Linked DNA regions of Homo sapiens: region 2 is linked to region 1. Evidence: promoter capture Hi-C in human tissues and cell types (Jung and others, 2019). All regions are on one chromosome and are shown on one strand. The core of a region is centred on a gene start or on the middle of the fragment in contact, and the rest is flanking DNA. Distances in the headings are between cores, read along the strand shown. Region 1 holds the start of FAM83B (family with sequence similarity 83 member B). Region 2 has its middle 35 kb from the start of FAM83B.

Region 1 (2,700 bases), core at 87-2,586:
CACTCCAATAAAAAACAAAAAACCCCAGTTTTCTCTTCTAAGTCTCTTTCATCACTCTCTCCCTTCCTGTTGCTTGTCAGCAATGATTCAGCCTCAGTCATGGATTTCCTCGGGGCTCTTGCACTTGTTAGGATGAGAAAGGGAAAGAAGGGAGGTGCCTGCCAGTAACCTAGCAAGATGTTTGTAACTGGGAATTTGGACATAAGCTGTTGAGCATTAAATTCTAGCCTCAATTGCTTGCCACCCGCACACCTTCTTCTTAAGTGTTCTGGCCGCCTGAGCTCTCATTTCCACTTCTAGGTCAGAGAGACCCTATAACTTCACCGCTCCGAGCATAGACAACATGCTAACCTGTGTTTCCATAACCTCCCAGCCTCCTCCTATAAAGAAAGCGCTGTTGTCTCTTTACATACCTATGACTCCTGCAATGAACACAGGCATTCTCTGCCTGTCCATTAACCTTACACAGGTAAGTCTCCCCACATATCACACAGAATAGGCCAAAAGTCTCCAAGTCCCGTTCCAGGAGCAATCTGCTCTAGGCCTACTCTCCTCTTCTAGATCACTCACCAGGATCTAGAGCAGTGGTTCTCAAACTTTGGTAGGTACAGGCTCTCCTGGAGAGCTGCTAGGGCACACAGACCCAGACTCAGGCCGACCCAAGTATGAAAAACACAGGTCGCTACCAGTCTGCACTCAGAAACGGGATCCTGTACAATTAAGAGGTTGTGTGAAAAAACTGTCTTTTCAAGTTCTGCTCCCCACTCAGGATCTAAAGAACACCCACGCCCCTCAGCGACCTAAGCTCTCCCACCTTTTCCCGGAACCCCCCACCCCCATGCCCTCTGCTTCCACCCTGGACTTCCTCCCACGAGACTTTTCCCAGCGGTCTCTCCTCCCGCTTCCCCTCCCGGGGTCCTCGGCGCACTCCTACACTGGAAAAGAGGAAACAAATGCAGCCTCCACGAGGGGCGGCGCCAGTCCTCTGGGGACCCAAACCGACTCCGCCCGAGACAACTTTTCAAACTTCTCAACTCACTCGAACCCCCACGACAATGAAAGAAACGTAGAAAAGACTGAAGCAACTGAGCTTTACACCCTGTGGAATTTCCAATCCCGCCTGCGCTCCCAAGGGAGAGTCCCCTATCCCTCCCGTCCGCCGCGCCGGCCAGGGGCGGGTGAAGCCCCGGGCCCCCCCAGTACCCCAAGCACCTCAACCCTGCACCCGCTGGGGTCCCGTCCGCCGAGGTCCGGGGCAAGGGAGCCCAAACCCCACTTACTTGCCCCAAGCCGCGCGCAACCGCGCCCGCCGCACAGCGCCGGCCGCCGAAGGTTTGCCTCCCAGGAAGCAGCAAGCGCCTGGGCGCGGGCAGGGAGGGGAGGGGAGTTACCTGCCCAGCGTCAGGTCCGCGGAGGGAGGCTGATTCCGGCTCGAACCGCGCCTCCCCGAGACAAGGTGCAGCGCTGGAGGGGGCGGGAGTGGAGACGGGTTACAACAAGTCCCAAGTGGTGGCACGCCAAACCCCGAACAGCCAGAAAGCGCTCGGAACCTGTCTGAACTCAAACACCCTGCTCTCTCCCAGCGGAGTATGAAAAAGCCTTTCTTTCCTGCCCGCCCTCGGGGCTACGGGGCAATTACAAGTCCCGACACCCTGCTCCTGGTCTGGGGCGAGGAGCGATCCCGGAGGACAGCGACGCTCACCTGGGAAGAAGGCGGATCTAGGCCGAGCGGGGCCGTGGTCCCGTCCTCGCTTTTCCCTGGGCTCAAGAATGCCTGGAGGAGAGGCCTGGGGGCCGCGGGTGAGAGCAAGGGTTGTAGCACCTTCGAGAGTGTGGGGCGGATTCAGCCCACAGTAGGTAATTCCAGTGGGCATCCCGCAGTGCAGACTCCTTCTCAGTGCCTAAGAGTCTTTAGGCTTGGAGAGGACGTGGGGAGTGGAAAAGTAGAAGAAAAAGTGCTTGTGCCTTTACTTTTTTATGTAAAAGAATTTCAAATATCATCAAAGATTTTGGTACTGACTCTCAACTGTCCTAGTTACAGATTTGGGATGAAAGGATATTGTTTAAAATAGGGAGATGTGCGTGAAAGCAGGTCCCTCTAGGTGGGATACTGCGGAGCAATGTTACGGAAGTGGAGACACTATAATTTAAACATAAAATACAGTAATTAATAAAATTTATTTTTTAATTTCCTTGCCTACACCTCAGTAAATCTGTCATGAGTATTTATAATAATTTGTGTAATCACGTAGACTTCAAGATAAAGTCATTTGCAGCAAATGTCTAAAATGCAGCCTAGTACTGTAAGAATGGAATTTAGGGTAGTAATAGGCATATTTTAAGCGTCTGGCATAATATATAAATTATCATAAAATTGAATTGACCCTTAAAAATGACTTTCGTGGCGATTTTGCTCCAAATAAAACAGTTGAGGAAAATGCTAAGCCATTAAGGTTTGGATGAATCCCTGACTGACGTGCTGATTTAAACTGAAGAATGAAATTCGCATTAGTCTAGATACTGAAACATCAGAGCAAAGGCCAAAGACAGGAAAGTAAAAGCAAATTCCAGGATTAGTACAAAGCTAATCTTCCAGATCTTGGTGTCTGGTTTGTAGTTTCATTTCTTCAAAAGAATGTAGAGAATTGTCTTGTTTTATGTATTTATTTTTTCCTTCTGTTCCTAATTTTCACATCTCAC
Region 2 (2,700 bases), core at 172-2,671, 35 kb after region 1:
TTTCATATAAGAGAATTAGAAGTTAATTTATTATTATAAGAATATCTTTCATACAACCTGACCTTGATTAATATACTTCTAACCTGTAAAACTAAAATATCAGGGATGTTATTCCAATGCGTTTAAGAAAACCAATAGTGTAATATTTATTTTCAAACTGAATAGCTAAAAATTCTGTACCACAATTTAATTATCTGTTTTATATATCAAACTCACTGGGCACTATATTTTAAATAAAGCTTCATCCATTATTGGGCAAGAAAATTAAATAGAAATATTCTAAATTATTAATGATATGGCAATATTGTTAGTGTAGTAGTTGTCATTTGCTCCACCATAGCATACTCAGAATACAAAAGCAATTTCAATTTTATTTCTTTTTCTTGTCTAGTTGTTCTGGCTAAGACCTCCAGTATTAATGTTAAATAGAAGTGGCAAGAGTGGGCACCCTTGCCTTGTTCTTCATCATAGAGGATAAAGCTCTGTTTTTCATATTGACAATGATGAAATTTATTATATATGGCCTTTTATGTGGACTTTTAATATATGGCCTTTTTATTTGGACATTTTTATATGGCCTTTATTATGTTAAGTTTATTTTCTTCTATTTTTCTAATTTGTTGAGTCTTGTCATGAAATGGTGTTGAGTTTTGTCAAATGCCTTCTCTTCATGTGTTGAGATGATCATGTCATTTATATCCTTCATTCTGTTAATGTGTTATGTCACACTAATTGATTTGTAGATGTTGAACCATCTTTGCATTCCAGGAACAAATGCCACTAGGACTTAGTGTATGCTCCCTTTAATGTGCTATTGAATTCAGTTTGGTAAATTAGGCAAAAAAAAAAAAAAAAGTTAAGAGGCATCCAAATCAGAAAAGAATAAGTAAAATTATCTCTGTTTGCAAGTGACAGGATCTTATATGTAGAAAATCACAAAGACTCCACACACACACACAAACACAAAATATTCAAACTAATAAACAAATTCAATAAAATTGAAGGATACAAATCAACATACAAAAAAATCAGTTGTAATTCCATACACTAAGAACAAATTATCTGAGAATAAATTTTTTTTAAAAAATTATTTACAATAGCATCAAGAAGAAAAATAGAAATAAACTAAGAAGGTGAGAAACTTCTACACTGAAAACTAGAAAATATTGATGGATAAAATTATAGTACAAAGAAATAAATGGAAAGTCATCCCATGTTCATGGATTAGAAGACTTAATATATTGTTAGAATATCTGTACTACCCAAAGTGGTTTACAGATTCAGTGTAATCCTATTAAAATTCCAATGGAATTTGTTTTACAGAGATAGGAAAAAAAAGGAATCCTAAGATTCATAGGGAACCAGAAAGACTACAAATAGCCAAATCAATATTGAGAAAAAAGAACAAAGTTGCAGGTATTATTATTTATAACTTCAAAATATTTTAAAGTTACAGTAATTAAAATAATATAGTACAGGCATAAAGATAGACATATAGACCAATTGAACAGAATAGACAGCCTAGAAATACACTTATACATGAAGATCAATTGATCTTCAACAAAGGTGCCAAGAATACACATGGGGAAAGGCTGGTATCTTCAACAAATGGTATTAAGAAAACTGGCCACCCAATTGCAAAATAATAAAATTGAACCCCTATCTTTTAAAAATCAACTGGAAATGGATTAAAGGCTTAGTCAGAAAATGTGAAGCTGTAAAACTACTAGAAATAAACATAGGGGAAACACTTCATGAGATTGGTTTTGGAAATACTTTTTTGGATATGACATCAAAAGCACAAGCAACAGAAAAAAAGGAACAAGTACGACTACATCAAACTAAAAAGCTTCTGCACAACAAAGGAACGAATCAACCACATGAAGAGGCAGTCTATGGAATGGGAGAAAATACTTGCAAACTGCATATCTGATAAGGGGTTAATATTCAAAATAAATAAGAAATTCCTTCAACTTAATAGCAGAACAAAAATAAAAACAAAAAACAAAAACAAAACACACAGACTCTCTCACACACACCCACAAATGCAAATAACCTGATTAAGACAATGGGCAAAGGACTTGAATAGACATTTCTCCAGAGAAGACATACAAATGGCCAATAGGTGTATGAAAAGATGCTAAAAATTACTAATTATTATAAAAATGGAAATCTTAATCACAACAAAATATCACTTCATACCTGTAGGATAGCTATGGTAAAAAAAAAATGGTAATGACTGTTGGAGAGGCATGCAGAAATTGGAACCTGTTTCCACTATCTGTGGGAATGAAAAATAGTACAGTTGCTACAGAGGTTCCTCAAAAAATTAAAAGTAAAAATATCATATAATCCAGTAATCCCATTCTAGCTATTTATCAAAAAGAAGTGAAATCAAGATCTCAAAGAGATATTTGCACTCCCATGTTTATTGTAGCATTATTCACAATAGATAAGATGTGGAAACAATTTAAATGTTCATTGATGGATAAATAAATAAAGTATGACACAGACATACAATAGAATGTTACTCAGCCTTAAAAAAGGAAATCCTGCTGGGCACGGTGGCTCATGCCTGTAATCCCAACACTTCAGGAGGCTGAGGTGGGTGGATCATCTGAGATCGAGACCAGCCTGGCCAAAATGGTGAAACCCCATCTCTACTAAAAATACAAAAATTAGCCAGCTGTGGTGGTGCCC

The links. Contacts are between HindIII fragments. The study calls those that stand out against the background at their distance.
Region 2: a contact is called between a fragment that was not itself captured here and the fragment with the promoter of FAM83B in region 1, in 1 of the 25 tissues and cell types used here (aorta).

What each region holds. Positions count from the first base shown.
Region 1 is chr6:54,845,407-54,848,106 of GRCh38, reverse strand. It overlaps FAM83B (family with sequence similarity 83 member B), which reads right to left and starts at 1,336. Exons shown (of 5, transcript NM_001010872.3): 1 at 1,281-1,336. The HindIII fragment of the contact is 13,561 bases long and covers 1-2,700 here.
Region 2 is chr6:54,810,907-54,813,606 of GRCh38, reverse strand. No RefSeq gene overlaps it. Among named protein-coding and RNA genes, the nearest start is that of FAM83B, 35 kb to the left of the region's middle. The HindIII fragment of the contact is 4,827 bases long and covers 1-2,700 here.